Linked DNA regions of Homo sapiens: regions 1, 2, 3 and 5 are each linked to region 4. Evidence: promoter capture Hi-C in 16 types of primary human blood cells and fetal thymus (Javierre and others, 2016). All regions are on one chromosome and are shown on one strand. Each heading gives the region's core, a stretch centred on a gene start or on the middle of the fragment in contact. The rest is flanking DNA. Distances are from core to core; before and after follow the strand shown.

The links. The method cuts DNA at HindIII sites, captures the fragments that hold promoters and counts their contacts. A CHiCAGO score of 5 or more calls a contact.
Region 1: a fragment that was not itself captured here is called in contact with the fragment with the promoter of LINC00608 in region 4 in 1 of 17 cell types (M2 macrophages); the score reaches 5.0 in M2 macrophages.
Region 2: a fragment that was not itself captured here is called in contact with the fragment with the promoter of LINC00608 in region 4 in 9 of 17 cell types (M2 macrophages, M1 macrophages, erythroblasts and 6 more); the score reaches 10.0 in M2 macrophages.
Region 3: a fragment that was not itself captured here is called in contact with the fragment with the promoter of LINC00608 in region 4 in 8 of 17 cell types (M2 macrophages, activated CD4 T cells, non-activated CD4 T cells and 5 more); the score reaches 8.6 in M2 macrophages.
Region 5: a contact is called between a fragment that was not itself captured here and the fragment with the promoter of LINC00608 in region 4, in 2 of 17 cell types (M1 macrophages and M2 macrophages). The highest score is 5.9, in M1 macrophages.

The regions. Positions count from the first base shown.
Region 1 is chr2:218,634,933-218,637,632 of GRCh38, forward strand. It overlaps PLCD4 (phospholipase C delta 4), which reads left to right. Exons shown (of 16, transcript NM_032726.4): 14 at 864-999; 15 at 1,311-1,460; 16 at 1,539-2,243. The coding sequence ends at 1,645. ZNF142 (zinc finger protein 142) reads right to left here. Exons shown (of 11, transcript NM_001379659.1): 11 at 1-2,700. Among named protein-coding and RNA genes, the nearest start is that of ZNF142, 23 kb to the right of the region's middle. The HindIII fragment of the contact is 965 bases long and covers 778-1,742 here.
Region 2 is chr2:219,333,638-219,336,337 of GRCh38, forward strand. No RefSeq gene overlaps it. Among named protein-coding and RNA genes, the nearest start is that of RESP18, 2.2 kb to the left of the region's middle. RefSeq lists an enhancer at 1,086-2,285. The HindIII fragment of the contact is 2,771 bases long and covers 1-2,700 here.
Region 3 is chr2:219,362,008-219,364,707 of GRCh38, forward strand. LOC105373883 (a long non-coding RNA gene) reads right to left here. Exons shown (of 2, transcript XR_923917.3): 2 at 495-801. Among named protein-coding and RNA genes, the nearest start is that of DNPEP, 25 kb to the right of the region's middle. RefSeq lists an enhancer at 556-605. The HindIII fragment of the contact is 1,677 bases long and covers 492-2,168 here.
Region 4 is chr2:218,974,894-218,977,593 of GRCh38, forward strand. LINC00608 (long intergenic non-protein coding RNA 608) reads left to right here and starts at 1,391. Exons shown (of 2, transcript NR_024385.1): 1 at 1,391-2,505; 2 at 2,589-2,700. The HindIII fragment of the contact is 22,563 bases long and covers 755-2,700 here.
Region 5 is chr2:218,701,250-218,703,989 of GRCh38, forward strand. STK36 (serine/threonine kinase 36) reads left to right here. Exons shown (of 27, transcript NM_015690.5): 27 at 617-1,466. The coding sequence ends at 760. Among named protein-coding and RNA genes, the nearest start is that of TTLL4, 8.2 kb to the right of the region's middle. The HindIII fragment of the contact is 889 bases long and covers 917-1,805 here.

The DNA.
Region 1 (2,700 bases), core at 10-2,509, 340 kb before region 4:
CACAGGAAGTGCTATAAAAGAGGCTGGCTGGGAGCGATAGCTTACACCTGTAATCCCAGCGCTTTGGAGGCCAAGGCAGGAGGACTGCTTGAGCCCAGGAGTTTGAGACCAGTCTGAAACTGGTCTCAACAAAAAATTTAAAAATTTTGTAGAGACTCCCGTCTCTACAAAAAATTTAAAAATTAGCCTGGCATGGTGGCACATGACTATAGATAGTCCTGGCTACTCAGGAGGCTAAGGCTGGAGGGTCACTTTAGCCCAGGAGATGGAGGTTGCAGTGAGCTATGACTGCCCCACTGCATTCCAGCTTGGTCAAGAGTATGATCGTGTCTCTTTGAAAAAAAAAAAGTGGCTGCTGTCATTAGCATGCCTACTTTCAAACTGTTGAATTTCTACCTGGATCCATTTAATTTATTTGTTTATTCTGAGACAGAGTCTTGCTCTGCTGCAGGCTGGAGTGCAGTGGCATGATCTTGGCTCACTGCAACCTCCGCCTCCTGGGTTCAAGTGATTCTCCCATCTGAGCCTTCCGAGTAGCTGGGACTACAGGCGCCCGCCACCATGCCTGGCTAATTTTTGTATTTTTAGTAGAGATAGGGTTTCACCATGTTGGCCAGGCTGGTCTCCTGGTTTCAAGTGATCTGCCCACCTCGGCCTCCTGAAGTGTTGGGATTACAGGTGTGAGCCACCGTGCCCGGCCTTTGGGTGCATTTTAAATTGCAGATAGAATACTAGAAGAAAATATATTACCCATGGAGGATGTTTTACAAACCAAAAAGCTTCTTCTCCCCTGGGGTTGGGAGTAGGGTCGGGTGGGGCTGGGCTGAGCAGGAACTTGTGAGATTCCAGAGCCCTGACTACAGGTGATCAGCGGTCAGCAACTCCCCAAAGTGGACAAGACCAAAGAGGGGTCCATTGTGGATCCACTGGTGAAAGTGCAGATCTTTGGCGTTCGTCTAGACACAGCACGGCAGGAGACCAACTATGTGGAGAACAATGGTGAGAAACTGGCAGTGCTGGGGAGGTGGGGGTAGGAGCATGATTAGTTTTCCTTCTAGTCTGTCTTCCATTAAGTATAGCATCTGTTATTGCATGTCCCCACATGGGAGGCAGTGTGGAACAGTACAAAGAATCCTGGCTCTTCACTTAAAAGCTCCAGTGACCTGGGCAAATTACTTGCTTACTCTGAGCCTTTTTCCTTACCTGTAAAATGCTGATTGCCATCTAGATTAAATGAGAACACAAGAAAAGCAACCCAGTCAAGAAAACTGTCATAATGTCTTCTTATTTCTTTCTGTCCACCAACTCAGGTTTTAATCCATACTGGGGGCAGACACTATGTTTCCGGGTGCTGGTGCCTGAACTTGCCATGCTGCGTTTTGTGGTAATGGATTATGACTGGAAATCCCGAAATGACTTTATTGGTCAGTACACCCTGCCTTGGACCTGCATGCAACAAGGTGAGCCAGCCCCTTTGGCCCCTGGCCAATACCCCAGCTCTGGCTGCCTTCCTAATGCTGTCCTCCTGCCCCTTCCAGGTTACCGCCACATTCACCTGCTGTCCAAAGATGGCATCAGCCTCCGCCCAGCTTCCATCTTTGTGTATATCTGCATCCAGGAAGGCCTGGAGGGGGATGAGTCCTGAGGTGGGCATTTCACGGGAAGGGTTGGTGTGCTGGCTTTAGACGGGGAGAAACATCTGGAAGGATGCTCGAGAGAACAAATGGAGGTGGTGAAAATCAAGCTTTGGATTGTGCATTCCTAGGCACAAAATTACCTCATTCTTCCTAACAAGCAATCTGGGACCTGATTTTCCACCTTTTTTCTCTTTTCTTCCCTTCCTTTGTTTTCATAAGCCTTTGGTATCTTTCCTGCCCTTTTCCTTTGTGTACTCTATACTGGAGTTCCCTTCTTCCTCTTGCTGTAGGCTCAATCCCATACCGACATCTACAACTAATCTTTCCCATCAACTCTGTGTGAAGGCAGGTTGCAACTAGAAATTCAGAGGGGCTTGGAATAGAGAAACCTAAAGAAGCATCATCCCCTCCATCCCCAACTTCCTCAAAGCCCAAAGCCAAGGGAAGGATAAATCAAGGCTCAAGGCTTCCCCAGCAAAGATTAGGGAAAGAGACTTGACCCCAGGACTGTACTACGACTCTTAAGAGAACACTGCACAGCACTCAAAGTCCCCCACTGGACTGCTTCCTCCTTAGCCCCACTGGTATAAATACATCTCTCTCCAATTTGGCTTCAATATGGTCTGTCATTGTTGGGCAAGAAGGGGAGGTACAAGGGTTGTGGGGACATCTGGGTAGTCAGGTGAGACAAGGAAAAGGTAGAGAAAGAGGTTCCCAGGAGACCTCTTGCATGTGCTACATAGGAAGGACACAGAGTATGGCTTTTAAGAATCAGGGCAAAAGCAGACAAAAGGTTATGTGGTCCCAGCCTTCCTGAAGAGTCTGGCTGGAACCATCCTGGTTTATGTCTGTTGTCCCAGCATAATTATTAATAGTACCCTCTTTAAGTTTTCCCAGTGTGTCTCAGTTTAGATGATCAATTATATAGTAAGGCACTACAGAATTATACTGTGAAGCAGTTATAGAATTCTGAATTGGAGATTTTCCTCTCTAGTCATCTGCCTTTCCATAGTATCCTTGTGCTTTAACACCTTAGTGTAGCTGCTGAGCCAGTCTGAGGATT
Region 2 (2,700 bases), core at 117-2,616, 360 kb after region 4:
ACTGGGCATGGTGGCTCATGCTTGTAATCTCAGCACTTTGGGAGGTCGAGATAGTGGATTACTTAAACCTAAGGGTTTGTATAGTGAACATTTGGGGTTGATACATTACAAAGGATCTGAATTATATTATTATCTTTAAAGGGTAATAGTTTGAGTTTGTTCTGGCAGGCAATTAAATTTTTGGTAAAAAGTCTTGATCCTGTGGCAGTCTGGTTAGGGAAGGAGTACTTCATCCTATTCTCAATTCTAGCCTGTATCTCTTAGTCCTGGGATATGGTGCTTATGGCTAAGGTGTGGTCCTTTTTGGATTTCAACATAACCCAAAGTCATTTACCAAAACTCTCTATTTTACGGGTCCTGAACTCCAAACTCAGTCACCCTAACACTGTGACAGCTGCCAAAATCTCTGTTCAGATATTTGACTTTTTCACTAGGTTCCTTGAAATCTCACCCTGCGCAAGTGCCATTTAGAAGATAGCTAAGAATTGGAGGGGAGTTAGGATGCAGATTTTGAGTTCCTCTCTCTGTAATTTATTCATTTTCTAAATTTCTTCCTCAATTTCCAGATGCTCTGGCATCTCTGTACTCCAAAAGCTGTTTCCTTAGTAAGACTGCCAGTTGCTGACAGAGCTGTTTCCCTGTGTACTGCAGTGAACTCTGAAGTATCTTCAGAGGAAAAGCCTATACATGTATAAGTCACTTGGTGGACTTCCTTTTTTTGAGGACTATACTCCCTGTAGGTTTCTAACTCTTGATCAGTCTCCATGCTTTCATACAGTTATTTTTATATTTTGCCTAGAGTATATACCCAATGTTAGGAGGATCCGACACAAGTTTCTGTCTTGTCACGCCAAAAACTAGAGGTTTATCTGGTTGTCACTGATTATGTACTGGACATGCTATTTTAAAATAAATTTATAGCAATAATTTGAGGCCTAAGAGCAAATGAACGTGAACCTGCTTTGTGAAGTATAATGCTCCTGGAAAAAGGGAAATATTGGTCTTTGGGTCGGCTGAACAAAGGTGAGTGTGCTCCTCTCTGTATTTTAAGATTTTAAACCACCAGGAGAATGGCTATCAAAATGATAAATGTACAGGAGCATTGATGCTGCTCTTCTTTTTACTGTTCATTGGAAGGGATTCTAATGCTAAGAGTAATACCCTCAGAAGACTTAGCAGGTTTTCAGGCCTATTGAACCAGGGGTTCGTAGGAAGGAACTTTCTTTCCCAAGAAGAAAGAAAGACTACCATAAAGTGTAGCTGGGGAGAGTGGGCGAAGGAAGATTGTAATTCAGCTGTGGTCCTACTCTGTCTTACATTCATGTTACAAATGATGTCCGGAAGGAGAAGGAGATCAGAAGCCTAGGCTCCATGTGTACCAAGGAGTTTTACTATTTCAATCCCCACCCCAAATGTCCTCTCTGTTCTGGCTTTACATATTTTAATTCAGAAGCTCTGGCTGAGGCCCACTGTCTTACTTGCAGACAAGCCTGCTTAAAGAATTTTCATGAAAACTCACTTTAAAAAATCCAGTAGCAAGTTGTCCTAAAACTGCCTCTCTGCAGGGTAATGGGGCTGGGAGAGGAGGAAGGCCTCAATCTGTGACAAAGTTTTGCTCAGAGAAGGAAACAGTTCAAAGAAGCTCTAAAATGGGAGGAAAATCGGATTTGGAATTTGTGTGTATATGTGCCAGGGGCTCCCCCTCCACAGTGTAAGCTCCCCTCACCCCACTATATAAGGGCCTCTAGTTGCAGTCTTGACTTGGGCAAGTCTTGAGGAATAGTGACTCAGCAACCACCTGACAGCTAGCCTCCCCTTGGCTCCGACGTCATGATCTTCTCTCTCTCCCTGATTTTCCCTTAGGTACAGAGCTAGTCAAGGACGCTGAGCCTGCAGAAGAAAGGCAGATTCTTGTTTGCATAATTGGTAGCACCATGACAACCAGTTCTTATTGTGAGGATCAGTCATTTAGTGCTGATGATGCCACTCCAGCGACCAATCCAGGTAGGAGAAGTGTAGCTGCCATGGTGACAGGAATCAAGAAGCAGTTTCCTTGGAAGCATAAGGATCTAGAGCCCCCTGAGGTTCAGGCTGCCTGTTGGGGCAGTGCAGGGCCAGATAGAGGTGCTAGGCTCCTGTGATTGCCTCGCCCAGGCCACCACAGTCTTTCTTGGACCAAGACAACACTTCCTAACTGATCTATTGATTCCACTCTTTCCCCTATCAATATATTCTCAAGTAGCCTTTTAAAATTATATATCACATAATTCTATTCCCTTCCTTAAAATCCCCAGTGATTTTTCCTCTGTACTTTGCATAAGATCTGGACGCTCTACTGTTGCCTACAGAGCTCTGTCTAGGCAATTTTGGACTTATTTCTCCAATCCCATCTCCTATCACTGGTTGTTCTGTTTGTTTTTCTAAAGTGCCATTTGAGAAATGAAAAAATATAATAACTAAAATAAAAACTCACTGGATGAGCTCCAAGCGGGATAGAAATGACAGAAGAGTCAGTCAACTTGAAGATGGGTCAACAGAAATAATCCAATCAGAACAAGAGAGAGAAAAAACATTGGGAAAAAAAAAGTTAACAGAACTTCAGGGACCTGTAGGGCAATATCAAAAGTCCAAAATTAATGTCATTGGAATTCCAGATTAAGAGGATAAAGTGCAGTACACACAAAAATTTTGAAGAAATAA
Region 3 (2,700 bases), core at 80-2,579, 390 kb after region 4:
GAGATTGTGCCACTGCATTCCAGCCTGGGTGACAGAGCAAAACTCCATCTCAAAAAAAAAAAAAAAAAGAGAGAGAAGAGGCAGCTCCTCCGAGATGGGTCAGAGCTCTATGGGGAGCCCCAGGTGGGCATCTAGATGGTGAAGAGCCCAAAGACTCTAGAAGTGGGTTCTCGGGACTTGCGCATGCGTACATGTGTTTATATGTGTATACATGTGTTTATATGTTTGTGCATGGGTGTTGTGTCCATGTGTTTATATGTGTGTGCATGTGTTTGTATGAATCAATGTGTACTGTATGCATGTGTGTTTGTGTGTGCGTATGTAGGTTTGTATGTGTGGGAGATGTATTTGTGTATGTAGATGGGATGTGTGTGTCAATGTGTATATGTGTACATGTAGTGTACTTGTATTCATTGTCTATTACTTTTTTTAAAAATCCAGTTTTAGCAAAGAATATCTATGGCTTATTGCTACATGACAAATTACCCCAAAGCTTAGTCGCTTAAACTATAAACATCTATTTCACAGTTTCTGTGGACTGGGAATCTGAGAGAGGCTTAGCTGGGTATTTTTGGTTCAGGGTCTCTCTTGAAGTTGCAGTGAAGATGTTACTCAGGGTTGGCTGTAGTCTTCTGAAGGCTTGCGTGGGGCTAGAGGATCCACTTTCAAGATGACTCACCCTCCTGGCAAGACGATGCTGGCTGTTGGCAGGAGGTCTCAGTTCCCTACCACATCAGCCTCTCCATATGGCTGCTTGAGTGCCTCATGACACAGCAGCTGGCTTCCTCTGGAGTGAGTGACCTGAGAGAGAGAGAGAACCAGGCAAAAGCCACAGTGTTTTTAAAACCTAGCTTTGGAAGTCCCATGCCATCATTTCTGCCATATTATACTGGCCACAGAGACCAACCCTGATACACTGTGGGAGGGACTACACAAAGGCATGAATTCCAAGAGGTAAGGATCACTGGAGGTCATCTTGTAGGATGGCTATCACATGCAGTATGTGCGTGTGGGTATGTGGGGTGTGTGTTTGTGGGTGTGTACATAAAGATGTGTGTGTTTGTGTATATATGTGTATGTTTTTGCATATGTATATATGGATATATAGCAATATGTTTGTGTGACATGTATCTATGTATTGTCTGCATATGTGTATGCATGCATTTATGTATATGTATCTGTGTATTGCACATGTGTGTTTTTTGCGCACGAGTATGCATGCATGTATTATGCCTACATGCATGTCTCTGTGTTTGTATGTTGTGCATGTGTGCATATATGTGTATGCCTTTTTGTATGTATTTGTAGTATGTGAATGAGCATATGTATGCATGTGTGATGGGTTTGTATATGTATCCAGGTGTATATGTGTGTCTATGCCTGTGGCTGTATATGTTTGCAAACATTGTATGTGCATGTGCACCTGTGTTGTGTGTGTGCATGTATGCTTACATGTGTGTGTTTCTGTATAGATGTCCATGTGTAAGTCCGCATGTGTCTGTTTATGTGTGTGTAGGTGTATATATGTTACGTTTATGTATGTGTGTGAGGTGTATGTGTGTAGGTTTGAGAATATGTGTGTGCATTACTATGTACATATTGCACTTGTATATATAAATGTGTGCTGGCACATGCATACAAACTTAGGAATGTCACCTGCTGTGGGAGGAAAGCCTGGAGTCAGGAGTGGGGAGACTCAGGGAGGAGTCCCTATTATTCCTGGGGTAGCCCATGAGTGGAAGGCTCTGGAGCCTGGAGAGCAGGCTCTCCCTTGCATTTAGGATATGTGGATCCATGGTCCTCTGCATCTGGCTTTCCTTTGTCAAGGCTTTCTGTTGTTGTTCATTTTTGTTTGAACATTTCAGTCTTTCCTAAGCTGTCAAATAAAGCAGCAGAGAAAGGGTGGTCTCTATTGCCTGGAAGTTGAGAGTTCAGTGTAGACTAGTGCCCCTTTGGGGCTGGCCTGGGGAAAACAAGGGGATTTCCCTGGAGAGCACGGCTGACCCTCCCTCTCATCTCTTCTCGCCTAGGGCCACTCTGGGAGCTTCTGGAGTTTATTGGGCAAGAAGGGAGGGCATTTCTTTACTTCTAATAATCCAGTCATCTTAGGAGCCACTCTTTTCCTCTTTCCATTTAGAATATTTCTGACACCAACTTTTGTGTTTAGAAGCTTTTATGCTTTTTTTTAAAAAAAGTATTTTTACCTTTTGATTATGAAAGGTAATACATATGAACAGAAGTAGACAGAATGTAAAGATACAGCTCAACAGATTTTCAGAGTGAATAGCCATTTATACTATCCAATAAGAGGGTTCAGGACATGCCACCCAGAAACATGGCACACTGGCATGTTGAATATTTTAAGCTGGAAGGATCTGAGAAACAGCATGTGCAGGACAATCTCTCTGACTTCCCTGATCCTTCTCTCCTGAAGGGATCTCCCTGATCCTTTCCCCATGTGAAAGGTGTCCTTCCTCCAAAGATGGGGACACAGACAGGAATCTGAACACATGGGCCTTGTTAAGTCTTTTGGGTAAATAAAATTAGTTTTAAGATTGTTGGCAGGCTGGGCGCAGTGGCTCACACCCCTAATCCCAGTGCTTTGGGAGGCTGAGACAGGAGCATTACTTGCGCCCAGGAGTTTGAAACCAGCTTGGACAACATACTGAGACTTGGTCTTTACAAAAAGTTTAAAAAGTA
Region 4 (2,700 bases), core at 141-2,640:
GTTCAAGACAAGCCTGGCCGACATGGTGAAAACCCATCTCTACTAAAAATACAAAAATTAGCTGGGCGTGGTGATGGGTGCCTGTAATCCCAGCTACATGGGAGGCTGAGGCAGGAGAATCACTTGAACCCAGGAGGTGGAAGTTGCTGAGAGCCAAGATTGCACTAGCCTGGACGACAGAGCAAGGCTCTGTCTCAAAAAAAAAAAAAAAAGAAAGAAAGAAAGAAATATTCATCCAGGCACAGTGTCTCATGCCTGTAATCCAAGCACTTTGGGAGGCCAAGGTGGGAGAATCATCTGTAGCCAGGAGTTTGACGCCAGCCAGGGCAACACAGTGAGACCCCTATCTCTACAAAAGCAAAATAAGATTAAAACAAGCTGGGCATGGTGGTGCATGCCTGTAGTCTCAGCTACATGGGAGGCTGAGATGGGAAGATCTCTTGAGCCCAGGAGTTCAAGGTTGCAGTAAGCTATGATCATGTCACTGTCCTCCAGCCTGGGCAACAGAGTGAGACTCTATCTCTAAACAAAGAAAACAAAAGAAATAGGAAACATCACAGTCAATGGGACATTGAACCATTCACCTCTATACATGACATGCGTCATCCCAAGATGGAGGAGTGTCATGGAGAAATCCTGCTGACCAAACAAAAGTAGGAAATGCCACTCAAGTCAATATATAATCAGAGCCCCACCCCACCTCAGAGTACAGTGATCTTCTCCAAGCCTGCAGCGCCTCAGTTAGGAAAGTGAAAGCTTGCAAAAGGCATTGGGGCAACAAAATAGTCTCTATTTCTTATCAGGGACAAAATGTACTTCCTTATCAAACAGAGACCTAACCAAGGACACTCATAAGGCAAGCTGTCAGTTTGTCCTTTATAACCAATTGTAGGCGGTGTGCACCTGTACTGGGCAAGCAGCAGGTCATGTTTACATGAGGAAGAAGCTATCCAGGAAGGCCAGTAAGAGGGGATCTAGTGGGATGGTAAGGATTTCAGTTGTCAGGTCATGGGCTGGCCCAGCCACTTCACTTCTCCAAGCCTTGGTTCCCTCATTTGAAAACAGAGATAACCATCCCCATCTGGTAAGGTTGTAGCCAGGTCAAAGGAAATACCACCTGTAAAACATTAGCATAGGGCAGAGCCTGGCAGAGTCATGTTCAATGAGTGGTAAGGCATACTTTTATCATCAGCAGATCCACTTGACATGGATTATAAATAGCTAAAGAAACAAGTTCATTTTGGTGCATTTCAAAGACATATTAAAGGAAAGGTGGAGGCCAGAAGAGCAGAAGGCTCTGAGAAAAGTGCATCACAGTGGCCCATTATGATGTCTGTCTATGGTCACGTGAGCTGGCATATGAGAGTGCTCTGTGAGCCTCAGTGCCTTCAGTGGCATCATTGCACTGTGACTGTGCAGGTCCCAAACAGTATGGACATGAATGTCCTCAAGCTGCATGTTAGCAGGGCTTCTAATTCCATCTGCAAGTGATAGTGTGTGGAGCTTAGTTGCACAGAGCGCATGTTACTGGAGGAGATATGGGTCTGTGTCATCCTGCATGGGAATGATCCTAAAAACAAAGTGATCAGTGACTGCTCAGGACTGTGGAAAGGTCACTTGGAGCAGTGGGAAAAGGTCTGGCAGAGGAATAAGAAGATACAGGTCTTAGAACAAGCCCTGGGACTTCAACCAAGTCATTTAACATCTGGGGCCTTCGTTTATTTATCCTCCCAGCAGATAAAGCAATACCTGCCCTGTCTTCCTAACCTTGGAGGGGTCAAAAAAGTGATGGGTGTGAAAGCATTTTGTAAACTGTAGTGCAAGCATACGGCAGGGGAGTGAACCATACTTTCACTAGCGACTTGAATGAGGTGATAAAGAAAAGGCTCAGAACTTCAGAAAATGCAAGAGGGGCTTGACCCTGGATTGGCAGAGGAAAGCAATGGTGGGATCGATACCTTGGAGAGCCAAGGACCAAGGGGTTAAGGGTCCATGAGGACAGGCCTGGATCATCAGGAAGCTGAGTGTGGTAAGACTGTGGCTTCTTCAGGGATTGGGTGGAGTACAGTCCTGCCAAGACCACAGTAACTCAGGGCTTGGAGACATCACAAAGGCAGGGGCTCCTAGAGCTGAGATAATCTGGAGAAGAGGATACCCATCTACTGCATTCTGAGATTGGGTTCGACCTGTAGGTCATCTTGGATAGACGTTTTCCAGCTCTTCTTTTTTTTTTTTTTTGGAACAGAGAGAACCTAATTGACCCTTAAAGTTCCACAGAGCAGAGTTTGCAAATCTCTGGTTCAGCCTTATTATTTAAATGAGAGGAGAATGAAATCCCAGAAAAGAGATGTGATTATGTGAAGGTCACACAGCAAGTTAGTTGCCAAGCTGCAACTGGAACTCAGAATTTCTGGTTCCCAGTTCTATATCTTAGCCTCCCAAACTGGCTATGTGGACAGGAAAGAACAGAGTAATGGGGTGAGCTTTAAGGATGCAATTTCATAGGTAAGAAGATCCCTTAATCTAACAATATCTCCCCCAGCTCCCCAACAATGACTAAAATCCCCCCTTTATTGACTCCTTCACAGGATTCCAAGAGTCTCAAGGTTAGAGAAGTCGCCTAGTCCACCTCCCCTCTCTGCTTCTCACAGAAGGGTCTGCTGAACACTCTGGTGACAGAGAACTCACCCAACATGTTCC
Region 5 (2,740 bases), core at 111-2,610, 270 kb before region 4:
GCCTCCCGAGTAGCTGGGACTACAGGCACCTGCCGCCACACCCAGCTAATTTTTTGTATTTTTTTTTTTTTTAGTAGAGACGGGGTTTCACCGTGATAGCCAGGATGGTCTCGATGTCCTGACCTCGTGACCCGCCCGCCTTGGCCTCCCAAAGTACGGGATTACAGGCATGAGCCACCTTGCCTGGCCGATGGTGAAGATCCTATAGGAATCTTGTGCAATCCATGGGGAAAATAATTAATGGGATTCTTGGTGGTAATGAGGTTAGAACTCACTGGTCTGCATTGAAGGCTAGGAATTAGACCTTTTGGCTTACTGTGAGTTACTGCTGCATTCATCAAGTCTTCCTGGGGACAAGTATATGTGTCCCTTAGTGCCTTGGTTTCATGGTCTATAACCAAAGAGAATGGAAGTAGACTTCTGGTCCTGATGATTCCTATCTCCAAGGTTTCTCTTCTGCCATTCAGTCTATTCCAAGTCCCCAAGAGCCCATTTCCTTTTTCTTCCTCTTCTCGAGTGGGAATTCCTGGGTAAATGAGAGTCCTCCGCACCTGCCCCAGACACCACCATTTCTGAGCCTCATGTTCTGTTCTATCATCTGTTCTCTATCCTACAGGTACTGGTGTCCCTGGGTGCCAGTGAGAAACTATCCTTGCTCTCTCTGGGGAATCAGTCACTGCCACACAGCAGTCCTAGGCCTGCCTCTGCCAAACACTGCAGGAAACTCATTCACCTCCTGAGGCCAGCCCATAGCATGTGATTCCAGATTCCTGCGGTCCAGCCTCCAACTTTGGTTGCCAGCTCTTTCTTATTCTACTACACAAGCCGCCAACTCAACTGAGAGCTAAAGAGACTAGAAAAGAGATAAGCTGCCAACTCAACTGAGAACAAGAAACTAGAAGAGATTTATATATAAAGCTTCTTCCTTCTCCCAGATGCAGGATGTTTTCAACCAGTAAATTTTATTGCTGTTGGTGCCAGAGAAGAGTCCTTTCTTCTCTACATCCAGGGGCCTTTTCTCCAATAATGTGCCTTTAACTCTAGGGACCTGCCTCACGGACCTTAGGGAAAAACCTCAACCTGAAAGATCTCTTCCTTTCTGGAGCTCCTTTAATCTTCCCAGCAGGTTTTTGCCTTAGACGTGCTGGCCCCAGGACAGTGATGAAGACAGAGCCTGTCTCAGCTCTAGGCTGTGGGGATCAATGCCATCAGTCCCTGTTATTGAGGGATTATCCCTTAGCCAACATTCCTATCTGTGGGTGGGCGTGGAGAGTGTATCTTTTTTTGGGGTGTGTGTGTATATGTGTGTGTGTATGTGTGTGTGTGTTTAATAGTTCTGTTTGTAAACTCTTTTAATAAAAGTTGTGCCTCACCATACTTGAAGCTCCCAGGACAAGGGTTGAGAGGCTCAACCCCTCTTTCAGCTTCTATGTGGTGTTGGAGGTGCTGGTATCGTGTTCACACAAGATCCTGGTCTGGCAGCTTATTTATATCATTTCTTGCCTTTACCAATTTCCCCCTTCCTAGATGAACTATATTTGGTTACCTACTTTCAAGTCAAGGCCGGTGGAGCTGAAATAGGAAAGGGTAAGATTCAACAGAGCGGTCAATTAGGTTGCTCAGACTTAGTGACTAATTTTAATATTTAGTGGAGTTCTAATGTGTAGGGACTCCAAGCTGCTGTAGAAGGATAGCTATTTTAAAGATTGTACAATTTACCAGAAAGGGCTTTTAGTCAGACCTGTTAGAATTATAATCTAACTGGAAGCATTGGAAAACCTTAACTCATTGGATGGCTTAGAACAAGCTTCCAGGGCCTTGATTTCTCCATCCATAAAATGAGGAGACTCCTTTCTGTCCTTCCTTAAATTCCAGTTGTTTTAGAAATGAAAGACAAGTAAAGTGCCCTTATTTTTATAAGAAATTTTGTTTAACCCTCATCTTCATTGTCCACAGTGTTTATACTTTAGCAAAAATAATATTTTTCTAGGGAGCACCATAATTTTCTTCTATCCAGATTATCTCAATTCAGTTCAATGTATATTTTTTGAGTCCTTTCTGTATGCCAGATACTATTCTAGGTACAGGAGATAAAACAGTGCCCATCATAGAGTTTCCATTCTGGTCGGGGAGATAGTGAAATTATTAAAAGAATAGTATGTAGGAAGGTGGTAAAAGCTATGGAGAAAAAGAAACCAGGGAAAGGAGATGAGGAGTGCTGAGTCGGATGGTCAGGGTAGGCCTCACTAGAAGGTGACACTTGAGAAAAGACTCGAAGGAGGCGAGGGAGTGAGTTGTGCACCTATTTTGGGGAAAAGCCAAGGCCCTGAGATGAAAGCATGCCTGGCATGCTTGAGGAGCTATGAGGAACCAGTATGGATTAAGTGAGTAAAGAAGGTGGAGAATAGTAGGAAATGAGACAGGAAGGTAATGGTGGGGGCCAGATATTGTAGGCTTTGTAGACCTTGGTGAAGACTTGGGCTCTTACTTTGAATGAAGGAGGCATCTATTGCAGGCTTTTGAACAGAGAATTTTATGAACTACCTTGCATCCTAAACGGATCATTCTTCATTCTGGTCTTGTGAATGGCTATGGGGAGTAGGGGAGAATGCGAAGTAGGATAAGCAGTTAGGAGGCTATTGTTATAATAATCCAGGCAAGAGACAATGGTGTCCTGGATGGCGACTGGGGTGATACCTATGGAGTGATAAAAAAGTAGTCAAATTTTGAATATATTTTG